Linked DNA regions of Homo sapiens: regions 2, 3 and 4 are each linked to region 1. The links are contacts of gene promoters, found by promoter capture Hi-C in human tissues and cell types (Jung and others, 2019). All regions are on one chromosome and are shown on one strand. The core of a region is centred on a gene start or on the middle of the fragment in contact, and the rest is flanking DNA. Distances in the headings are between cores, read along the strand shown. Region 1 holds the start of FARP1 (FERM, ARH/RhoGEF and pleckstrin domain protein 1). Region 2 overlaps DOCK9 (dedicator of cytokinesis 9). Region 3 has its middle 2.7 kb from the start of RAP2A. Region 4 has its middle 78 kb from the start of STK24-AS1.

Region 1 (2,885 bases), core at 218-2,717:
TTAGAAATGCAAACTCTCAGGCCCCACCCCAAACCTACTGAATCGGCAGCTCTGGGGATGGAGCCTGACAGTCCTTTATCCCTGCAGGCGATTCAGATGCTTGCTAAGGTTTCATTAGGTAGGTCGGGGATGCGGCCCAAGAATGTTCATTTCTTGACGTTTCCAGGGGCTGCTGGTGGTGGTCGTGGTCTGAGAACCACACTTAGAGAATCACGAGCAGAAAAAAATCTGATCTGTGACACACAGCTGGTTGGGCTGACAGAGCAAAGCCTCAAACCCACCATTTCTTCTCTTCAACCACAGACCACCAAATCTGCAAGTATTACATCTCTGCTCCTCCCCAGGAGCTGCCCACAAGCACCCCCTACTTCCAAGACCCCTGTTCTTGTCTCAACCCGCCCTTCTATCAGGGTCCCTACACTCCACTTCTGCCCAGCTCCTGTCCAGCTGTGAGTTCACTTGAGGCCTCTCCCGTGAAATCTGCCCTCTCGGTCTGAGGTCAGGGAACTCCTGTAAGACGCAAAAGGCCCACGGTTCTGAGCCAGTGGCCTCCGAAGGCCGGAATCCGCTAGCCCCGGGTCTGGCAGAACGTCACTTGCTGCGCCCTAGGCCTCTTCCCGCCACGCTTAGAGAGAGGGACTGGAGGCTCAGAAGGGGGAAGAGAAGGTAACGCGGCAGCTGCTGGGTGGGGACGGTGACTGTGCCCCTAGATCGCTGCCTCCTGGGTCCTGAATCTTGCTCCCCGCTCCGTAGAGTTCCCGAAACCCCGAAGGCTCTCAAGCACCGCAAGCCACTCCTAACCTCCCCCACGCCATTCCCCAAGGGCACTGTCCCCCGAGGCTGGGCGGGCGGGAACTGTCATGGGATTCGCTCGGGCGGAGGGCGCTGGGCCAGGACGTGGGCGGGCGCGGGGTGGCCGCCGCTCCCCCAAGCTTAAGTCCCGCGCAGCCCGGGGTGGTGCCGGAAGCCCGTGCCTGTGGCTCCGGGGGAGGGGAGGGCTCGGTGGGTCCCTGAAGACTGTCCTCCCCGCGCGACGTCGCAGGCGAAGCAGCCCCAGGCAGGACCTCAAAAAGCGACCTGCAGAGTCCGAGCCCCTGACCGCCCGCCTGCCGCTCCCGGCTTCGCCGTGCACACGTCTCCCGCTCTCCCCGGTTCGTTTTTCGCCACAGCTGCTGGATTCGCGTCTCGCCAGTGGCGCTCCCCGCGCTGCATTAGGTAGCGCCGCGCGGAGCCCGGCCCTGGCCGGAAGCCCAAGAGAGGCGCAGATCCCCGGCGGCGCGCTGGGCTCGGGAGGCCCCTGGGCGCACCTGCCCGGGCGGAGCGGAGCGGGGCGGGGCGGGCGCAGGGCGCGGGCCCGGACGCTGGAGGGGGCTGTGGCTCTCCCGCGTCCCCGCTGCTCGGGCTGCGCGGCGCCCGCCTCCCCCCGCCGAGGGGCCGGCCCAGACCCGGGGAGGGGCGGTGGCCACTGCACTTCCCGCTCGCCGGCCTCAGAGGCGGCGGGTCCGGCGCGGGCGCAGCGGTGCGGGCGCTCGGCTGGGGCGCGGGGCGGGGACGCGGCCGCTGCCCGCTTTGCGCCGCTCCTCCCTGCGCGAGTAGCGCTGGCCCCGGCGTCGAGGCGGCCATGGCGACCCGGAGCCCGCTCCCCACCCACCCCGCCTGCTCCGCCCTCCCCTCCGCCCCGCGCCACCTTTGATGGCTCGGACCTCAGCCGGCCACCGCCAGCCCTGCTCGCGCGCCCGCGCCGCCGCCGCCCGCGGGTATTAATAGCCGGCGCCGCCGCGCCCTCGGCCGCCGGGGGCTTGGGAGCCGCCGATCCCGGAGCCCGAGCCGGGAGAGGGAGCCGCCGCAGCCGCCGGCGCTGTGGAGGTAGGAGGCGCGCGGTGAACAATGACCGCGGCGGGAGGGCGGGGGCCGGCGGGGTCCGGGCCGCGGGCGGCAACTTGTGCGAGTCCAGGCTCCCGCAGCGCACGGCCGCGGCTGCGGGCGAAGGTGGGCGCGTGGTCCCCGAGGTCCTGCCCTGCGCAGTCGGGCGGCGGGTCGGGCCCGGGCAGCCCCGGCCACCATCGCAGGAGCTCGGGGGCCTCGGGGCTCCGGGCTGCCCCCTGCGCCCCTCTCCCCTCACCTCCGCCGACGTCGGGCTGCGGGGCTCCGCGCCGGTCCCCGCTCGCCTCCCCCGACCCCGGCGCCCTTCCCCCGTTTCCTTCCGTCCTACCCGCCCGCTGACAGCGCTGGACGCCGCTTCCGGACCTCGGGCCGCAATCTCGGCCCCTGAGGCCGGTTGCGGGCCGGGGAGGTGGCCGCTGGCGCGGATGCCGCCGGGTGCCCGCCGCTCGCCCACGCGCGGCGCGAGGGTTCCCGGCGGGTGACAAAGAGGAACACACCCTCTGCCCAAGTTAGATTTGTGTCTCTCTTTACTGTCTGCCTTTATGCAGGGCAAAGTTTTTTTTATTTTTTATTTTTTAAAGCAAAGGACAGATTGCTTTGCGGCGAGTATTTCCAAACAACTTCTGATTGTGGTTTTACGATTCAAGTTCCGGAAACTTTAGCTGTGTGATCCGGCTGGACCCCGGAGACTCTGTGTGTGTGTGTGTGTGTGTGTGTTTTATTTGAGGGGGGGAAATACGAATTCCCTGTAATGAGTCTGGATCTCGTTTGTGGCAGCTGGAGGCCAGCGGCTGTTGGGGATCGAGTAGGGTTCCCCAGAAAGGAGGGAGCTGAGGCTCACAAAGAAGCGAGGCCCTGGTATCTGATCAGTTCGTGGAGACGTGGGAGAGCCTGCTTGTCATCTGGAACAGTTTAGCAGCCTCGGCCTCCCTGTCTCTCCCAGCCCTGGGGAGTACCGGTGGCCTCTGGCCGTTTCATTATATTGTTGTTAAGGCTCTTCT
Region 2 (2,885 bases), core at 199-2,698, 710 kb after region 1:
CTCGAATCAGCATTTCTCACACTGTTGATGTTTGGAGTTGAGGTTGTATATGGAGAAGCTAAATGGAAATCAAGCCAACAATAAAGTTTTATTAAGACAGAACAAAATAAAGATGAGTACTGAACTTTAAGGGAAATTGCTTTTATTGCACTTATTTTTTCTGTTAGGAAGTTGGCTCAAGAGTTGCATTCCATTACTTCACCTTTAAAGAACCAGGTCATATACAATGAGATAAAAAGAAACTAGTCTGAAACATTCAGATGTAAACATCAATTCACTTGTTAGAAACCACCTTTGATCGCTAAAGACTAAATGCATACCTGTTTCAGAATGTGATAGAATGAAGACTTAAAAAAATTAAAAGATAAATCCACCTACAACTATCAAATCACAAAATTAAACCACACAACAAACTTGTAGCATTCAAACTGGTAATAAACACTGAGGAGCCTACCCAACTCTGAGGGGTGTCATGGGGTATTTTAAATTTTCGAGGAGAACACAGTGATATGTGACCTCAGCCAGAAGCTGCTGTTTCAGCAGCAGGTTGTGCTATGCTCCTTTTGAAGACATATTTGTGAAGCTGGGTATTTGGGGGCCTGCTATGATAAAAGGCAAGTAATCAATGAGGGACAGGAAATGCGAATGGTGCTGGCCAATCTGACCCAAAGGCTGAGAAGCTGTCAGTGTCCAACAGGTACACACCACCCATTTGTAGTGAGTTGTGGTTATTAAAAATAAAATTAATTGTTTCCTTTAAATTTATGTGTATTATTTCTTTTAAGTGCCTACTAAATTGTTAGGATGTAAGTACTTATTAAGTTATTTGGTCCTAAGTACCTAATAAAGAGAACTGCTGGGTGTGTCTTTCAGCCTAGGGATGCCACGAAATAAAGTGACACTAAGGGTGCTGTGAACGGGGAATATCTGGGAATCTGCTATAAACAACTATGAGCAGAAAGGAAATCTAATGTGGAAATAAAATTTGTGATGTCCATGAAAAAAACAGTATTTGAAGGCAGAAATCACTCCCTATCTTGGTACTATGGAATTTTTTAAGGTAATAGATTGACTTCCTGCTTAGATAAGATTTAAATAAATCACATAATTTAAAACGACTCTTTGGACTTGTACATTCCGTGCTGAACCAAAAGGCGTGCCTCCAGCGGAAAGGCCTGGCTGGTTTGGCAGATGGCATCAGGAGATTTGGACTCTGTGTCTGGCAGCTGTGAGCACACATTCTCCCAGACGCAAGCTGAAGATGCCATTACTTGGCACTTCACAACAGGCTGGTTGTTTTCAGATCTCAGTAGGCAAATGAGCTGCCATGGACTGGGATACTTCTAAGTTAAAAAATAAATAAACAACAAAATAAATATAGCCAGCCTCTAGGTTACACCAAAAGTATATTTGAAAGTGACTCCTCTGCCTCAGCCTCCCAAGTAGCTGTGATTACAGGCGACTGCCACCAACCCTGGCTAATTTTTTTGTATTTCTAGTAGAGACGGGTTTTCACCATGTTGGCCAGGCTGGTGTCGAACTCCTGACCTCAGGTGATCTGCCCACCTCGGCCTCCCAAAGTGCTGGGATTACAGGCATGAGCCACCGTGCCTGGTCAGTCTTTAACTCTTTAACCTTAGAAGGAAGACCTGTGACATCAAGGTCATAAATCCTTCCCTCTGTTGAACACTCAGATTTATTCACTGCTATCCCTGAAACTGATTCAGTGTATTAAAGATCAAGAAAAGAAGAGCCAGGAGAATTTGAAAAAAGAAGCAAAGGCTTGAACATGGTTTCATTAAGCCTTATTGTCAGCCAGTGGCTGCGTCTCCCCAGGAGAGAAACCATGTGAATGATTGTCGCAAGGGACAGGTAAAAACCCTGTGAAAAAACTATGGCCTTTTTCTGTACTCAGATAAGAAACACATGCTATGACCAAATTATAATTTTTCTAATATAATCATATTTCATATTTAATGTAGAACAGCATTTGAAGAACACAGAAGTCATGAAAAAGAACACAGAACTCAAGAGAAAGAGGTCCTCAGTAAAGTAAAATTAGGCCCTAAGTTCTCAGAGTCTCAAGCTTGATTCCAGAACTAGAGTCCTAATTTAAGACAAACAGATGGAAATGCAATATATCAAAATCAATATGCTTAGTTTGTTCCTATTTTTATGTCTTTGTGTATGTGTTTGTATTTAATATCCTGGCCCAGTGCATAGCTTTTAAAGTCCTTAAACGACACTTGAGTAAAATGAAAAGAAGATAAATTCGTCCCTCTTCCCTTGGTACCACTGAGTAGGTGGAAAAAGAAACCCTGAGCCTCAGGACGCTTGCCTTTTAAAATGAATGTAATCTCAGAGTAGTTTTTATCCAGGCAGTGAATCACTTTTAAAACTCTCAGGCACCATGATCCAAAGACATTTAAAAAACTGTGACGGCACATTCTCAGTATGTGTGGAAACAGGATTCTTCTAACAGAGATGTAAGGAGAGTTTGCTCTTGAAGGAGAAGCACCAGGACTAAAATTAGCTAGAAACTCCCTGATGAACAAAGAATTGTTAAAGCTGCCAGAAAAAAACTAGTAAACCCAGTTCAAAGATGAGGCTTCCCTGGAAGGTACTCCTAAAAGAGAACAGGGATTTAAATCTTCAAGAAAGGAGGCAATATAGATAACCTGAGTATAATAAGCCTGTCGAGGTGAATTCCTATGAAAAGTGGATTTGGATCTTAAAATTCAAGAGTGAAAAAGGATTAAGTCAGTTTCAAGTACTTTTCACAGCTGCAATGTCAGTGCGGAGCAATTGGAGGCTATGATGCTAAAGATCCCCAGTGGCCTATCTCCAAGTTCTAAAGAAGTCCCCAATCCTAACAAGGTGAATTC
Region 3 (2,885 bases), core at 248-2,747, 710 kb before region 1:
CAAAAATAAAGGGAAACTGCTGGGTACGCAAGCAACACTGTGCCTGCTCTTCTGCTTTGTTAAATGAACCACACTGAAGCTCTGTTTTCCGCAGAATCCTCTAGCTCTTAAGATTCTTCAGGCTTTTTCTTTTTTCTGCCTACATTTTAATCATTACGTCTTTTCTTTCAGATTTTTTTTCTGATTAAAATGGCCTTTTGAAACATCTACTCTCTCCACCCATACGTTTCTTTTATTGAGTTGTTTCCATACTCTTAATTTCTGCATTCTAATTCCTTTTCTTTTCAAAAGCACTGAGACATATCACATTTTTTAAAGGAAGAACAAAGTTTATTTTGCCCCTTCCTTTCCACTCCACATATATACTGCAGATTCTCAACTGTATTAGGAGCCTCACAGGTCAAGAAACCATCGTCTGCTCTCCTTATACTTGCCAGCAGCGTTTCACAGGTGCTAAATGTACTTGACATGCCCTTCCCCTTTATGTTTAATCAGAGGCATGCAGGCTTTAATAAGAAGCATTAGGAATCAGGGTTTTACAGTCGAAAAGTACCCCTCGCATTACAAACATCCTCTACTAATTTGTTTCTATTAAATTATCTGCATATTTGCTTCTTGCTGGTGTCAGGAAGTCCCAGAATACAGTACCTTTCCCACTTCATACCACCTTTTCCAACACCTTTTACAGAAAGAAAGGATGGACTTGGGTTTCCACGGTAACACAAGTGCGATAATTGAAGGTATCTGGCTATAGGTGAGATAACTCCCTTTCAGATTTAGTGGAGAGAGGAGAAATGAAGATTTTCTTTCTTTTTATTCTCCTGGCAATGCACTTTGGAAACTAAAGGGATCCTGCAGTGTCAGTTACTGCGTTAAGTTTTCACTATCTTACAGATTTACAGCTCTTGGGAATAATTCAAATTTCTTTTATATCATTTTTATTTTTTATTTCCCACAAACAAATGAAGATATAAGTTATTTCTATAATCATCTCAAAATAGAGTTTATGCTGGCATCGGAATGAACATGACTAAGGGGTTAGAAAATAGACATCCATCTCCCACCCAAGTCCTCTAAATTCTCTACACGTCCTGACATCCTTTTTATAGCAGCTAATCTTTCACCCAACATTTCACCTACAACCACAAATCAGGTAAGTACCATCATTTAAGCCAGAATAGGTGAGAAAATATGCTCCGACCTGTCATGTTTCTTTTGCCTCTTGGTGGTTAAAAATCAACCTTTATGGTACTGAGCATGAAATCTGAGGCCTGTCAATATAAGGCCTGTAAATAAATGAACTGTAACCACCCCAAGGGCTGCAGTCTCTATACCCCTTCTTATCAAAAACGTCAGCATTGATGAGAGGTCAGGGGAAATAGCCTGAGAAATGTCACAAAGCTGTCCTACTCTGTATTATGCTAAATGGAGTGACTACGGAGCCCACTCACTATTTTTGTGACAGCTTCAATCCAGAGCTTCTCAACATCTAGGGACCTAGGAGTCATGAAAACAGTTACTTAAGGCAACCTTCTGGACCCCACAATCCCAATACAAATTTCTCAAAAACATTAATCACTGGAACTTCATTCCTTGCAAAGTAAATGGACTTAGAGCTCCTTTGTAATGCAAGGTACTAGATGAGTTGTCATGATCTAGAGAGAAAGCTTCACGCTTCCTGGCTCTATTTAACAACCCTAAGAACTTCTTATCACCAAGATGCACAGTTAGAATCTTAAGACAGTCTGTCTTTCCTTGGAAAAGAAGTATAGCTTCTACTAACCCAAAGTAACCATGAATAAGCATACCAATTTTACACAAAATATGAGACTTCTGGAAAGCTAGGTGAACACCATACTTACCTACATCCTCTTGAAACATCCCTGCCAAAGTAGCTCAGATATGAAGCATCCATGTAAGCTCTTTCAATTTTAATTCACTATTTCATGTTAACTAGCCTAGGATGAAATAGTAGATCCTCTTCGGTTCCAGTTCCCTTAAAACAGTCCTGATTCTTAGTCCTTTTTATTAATATAATACCTTCACTGCTGATTCTGGTGGCTCAGATAGTACCATTCATATTTTAATGATATGTAATCAAGAAATGCTGAGTTATATTTTACTACATACACATTTTTAAATTCAGAGGACATTTGTCCTTGATAATTTTAAATGAAAACTTGGTGTGTGTTCATTACAGCAAGGTAATGCAAATATAAGTTATCCATTCTAATATAACGAAGCTATAGGGAAATAAGAAACTACTAAATTTGAGTAGTCTTTGTAGTAGTTTGACTATCGACAGAAAAGATGGTGAAAGAATACCTGGCTTTTAACTCAGACCAAAATCCCCTCTGCATGATGACCTTGTGGGAAAGAGGAACGGGGAGAGGTATGCCAGGCTCTAACAACAGAACTACAGAAACGTGTTATTCGCAGGAAATGTGCGACAGTAACGAACAGGTGAGACTAGTTTGAGAAGGACATAGTTTAAAGAAAGTAAACTGAATAACCAGTTACTGCAAAAAATAATGCAGGAAAGCTTGGGGATGTATCGTCTCCTAAATTTGACGTTATGGGTGGGAGAGGATGTGTAACTAAGATGCAATGCTAGCGACAGAACGCTAAGTTTTAAAACTCAATAGTGAAAGAAAAAAAATAATGTTTTGGGAGGAACGCCTGGAAGACCCATGCAACTGCTGCACGATGTTTCCTTAAGGACCGGAACATTTCTCACCCTGAAGACAAAAGTCCCTGTGTTCTCGATTCAGCCCACATCCCTCAGCACCATTTCCATGCCCATCATTTAGGCAGAATGCCACGGAGGCGACGTGAAAAGTGGAATTCATCATTCTGGCTTGCAACGCATCTTGTTCTTTTGCCAG
Region 4 (2,885 bases), core at 267-2,766, 510 kb after region 1:
AACATATTTAACGCAGGGGTTTTCAACCAGGCTGCCCTGTCTGGGGATTACCAGGGATTGGGCATTTAAAACCCTCCAGGTGACTCTCGTGCACAGCCGGTGCTGAGAACCTCTGGCTGACCTCTCCAAAGCTTTTTGTTCCTTATGTGTAAAATGGAGGGATCCACTCTTCACCAAGATTTATTCATTGAGCACCTTTGTTTTTTTGGCCATCAGCAAAAGCCCCCAATTTCAGTACTACATATCTCCCATGTAACAGTTTGTGATTAGCCGCAAACTAGACCCAAACCTAGCTGATCCGACTGCTGGCCAGTTCTTCCCCCCATTCCACAGCCCTCCATCAACAGCTATCCCAGCTGATCCGACTGCCGGCCAGCTCTTCCCCCCATTCCACAGCCCTCCATCAACAGATATCCCAGCTGATCCGACTGCCGGCCAGCTCTTCCCCCCATTCCACAGCCCTCCATCAACAGATATCCCAGCTGATCCGACTGCCGGCCAGCTCTTCCCACCATTCCACAGCCCTCCATCAACAGACACCCCACTGATCCGACTGCCGGCCAGCTCTTCCACCATTCCACAGCCCTCCATCAACAGATACCCCACTGATCCGACTGCCGGCCAGCTCTTCCCACCATTCCACAGCCCTCCATCAACAGATATCCCAGCTGATCCGACTGCCGGCCAGCTCTTCCCCCCATTCCACAGCCCTCCATCAACAGATATCCCAGCTGATCCGACTGCCGGCCAGCTCTTCCCCCCATTCCACAGCCCTCCATCAACAGATATCCCAGCTGATCCGACTGCCGGCCAGCTCTTCCACCATTCCACAGCCCTCCATCAATAGATATTTTCCACACATGGTTGTTCTGAGGATCAACCACGAAACTCCAAGTACAGTGCCTGGAGCATGAGTCAGTAGCAGTAATATACTTAATTAACTTGAGATTAGAACATTAGAACTAATTCTAATTTACATCTTTCCAGGTATCTTGGAGCTCAGTACATACATACCTACATACTACACACACACACACACACACACACACACACACACACACGTATATATGAAAAAATAAAGACAAACAGAAATTAAAATACATATAGCCGGGCGCGGTGGCTCACACCTATAATCCCAGCACTTTGGGAGGCTAAGGCAGGCGGATTACCTGAGGTCAGGATTTCGAGACTAGCCTGGCCAACATGGTGAAACCCCATCTCCACTAAAAATACAAAAATTAGCCAGGCGTGGTGGTGGGCGCCTATAATCCCAGCTACTCTGGAGGCTGAGGCACAAGAATTGCTTGAACCCAGGAGGCAGAGGTTGCAGTGAGCAAAGATCGAGCCACGGCATTCCAGCCTGGGCGACAGAGTGAGACTCCATCTTGAAAAAAATAAACAAATAAAATTAGGGCCCTTACCCCTAGTCCTGGATTTCCTGGATCAACTTTTCTCATCCAGGTCTGCGTCAGGTGGTCCTTGGGATCATTACAATGTGGTCTGTTTGCTGGAGTGGAGGAAGATGATGGCTTCCAGTGGAGCATGCGGGCTTGGAAGTGGTGTGGATGCAGGATGGCTTGAGCCATATCCCGTTTGTCTCCCTGAAGGTCCCGTTTCAGGAAATCTTTGACTCTTGTTTTGGGGTATTTGAGTGACTTCCTGATATAGTCCCCAAATTCCAGGGCTGTGGCTCCAGGGGGCCAACTGAGGGCTGTGCATTCTCAGGGTGACAGCCTGAACCACACAGACGTCAGGAAAGCCTTCCTTGAAATCCCTGCGCACTTCCCCTCTCCATATCAGAATCATCTGGAGACTCGTTAAAGCACAAGTGTGGAGGGTTAAAGCAGAGTGTTTGATTCAATACAGCTGTGGCAGTGCCTGAGAAGGCGCATTTCTAAGTTGTTCTCAGAGGCTGCTGATGCTGCTGGTCCAGGGACCACACTTTGAAAACCACTAGACTAGGGAGAGAGCTGGCATCATCACCTGAGTCTTGTGAGGCTGCCTCTTGGGGATTCTAACAGTGACTTTGAGGCCTCTAGGCCTGACCTGGTCCATGAACTCTTTGTTCACGTTGGAGGATAGAAGACCACGGGGAGAAGTAGGAGGAGGAAGTTTGGGCAGATCCACGACCAGGAGTGTAGGAACTCACACTTGAGGCTGGACAGGGAAGTCTAGAGTACAGAGTCTGTTGTTGTTGTTGTTGTTGTTGTTGTTTTAAAGAGGTAGGAGTCTTGGGTGTTTTTTTTTTTTTTTGAGTTGGAGTCTAGCTCTGTTGCCCAGGCTGGAGTGCAGTGGTGTGATCTCGGCTCACTGCAACCTCCACCTTTCAAGTGATTCTCCTGCCTCAGCCTCCCGAGTAGCTGGAATTACAGGCATCCGCCACCAGGCCCAGTTAATTTTTGTGTTTTTAGTAGAGATGGGGTTTCACTGTGTTGGCCAGGCTGGTCTTGAACTTCTGACCTAGTGATCCACCCGCCTCAGCCTCCCAAAGTGCTGGGATTACAAGCGTGGGCCCCTGTGCCGGCTTTTTTTTTTTTTTTTTTTTTTTTTTTAAAGAGGCGGGAGTCTGTCTATGTTGCCCAGGCTGGTCTTGAACTCCTGACCTCGAGCCATGCTCCAGCTTCAGCCTCCCAAGTATCTGGGACTACAGGCATTTGCCGCCATGTTGGCTTAGTTACAGAAGTCGTACACGCTAGGATTGAACATCAAAGTCCAGGGATAAATGCAAGCCTTGAATGCCAAGAAAGTCTTCACAGCAGACAAGGTTCAGAGGCAGCAAAATGTGGGATGGTGATGCCAAATGGGAATCACTGCCATGATGAATCCTCAGGCAGAGAAGGACCTGAAATTCTGTGTGCAAAGGTGGTGAAAAGGGAGGTGGGATC

The links. Contacts are between HindIII fragments. The study calls those that stand out against the background at their distance.
Region 2: a fragment that was not itself captured here is called in contact with the fragment with the promoter of FARP1 in region 1 in 1 of the 25 tissues and cell types used here (dorsolateral prefrontal cortex).
Region 3: a contact is called between a fragment that was not itself captured here and the fragment with the promoter of FARP1 in region 1, in 1 of the 25 tissues and cell types used here (dorsolateral prefrontal cortex).
Region 4: a fragment that was not itself captured here is called in contact with the fragment with the promoter of FARP1 in region 1 in 1 of the 25 tissues and cell types used here (mesenchymal stem cells).

What each region holds. Positions count from the first base shown.
Region 1 is chr13:98,141,627-98,144,511 of GRCh38, forward strand. It overlaps FARP1 (FERM, ARH/RhoGEF and pleckstrin domain protein 1), which reads left to right and starts at 1,468. Exons shown (of 27, transcript NM_005766.4): 1 at 1,468-1,866. It overlaps LOC105370328 (a long non-coding RNA gene), which reads right to left and starts at 2,284. Exons shown (of 3, transcript XR_931670.4): 1 at 2,213-2,284. RefSeq lists silencers at 919-968, 1,209-1,518. The HindIII fragment of the contact is 5,274 bases long and covers 1-2,885 here.
Region 2 is chr13:98,855,974-98,858,858 of GRCh38, forward strand. It overlaps DOCK9 (dedicator of cytokinesis 9), which reads right to left. Exons shown (of 53, transcript NM_001366683.2): 34 at 1-58. Among named protein-coding and RNA genes, the nearest start is that of DOCK9-AS1, 25 kb to the left of the region's middle. The HindIII fragment of the contact is 8,191 bases long and covers 1-2,885 here.
Region 3 is chr13:97,430,010-97,432,894 of GRCh38, forward strand. No RefSeq gene overlaps it. Among named protein-coding and RNA genes, the nearest start is that of RAP2A, 2.7 kb to the right of the region's middle. The HindIII fragment of the contact is 3,559 bases long and covers 1-2,885 here.
Region 4 is chr13:98,653,614-98,656,498 of GRCh38, forward strand. No RefSeq gene overlaps it. Among named protein-coding and RNA genes, the nearest start is that of STK24-AS1, 78 kb to the left of the region's middle. The HindIII fragment of the contact is 8,885 bases long and covers 1-2,885 here.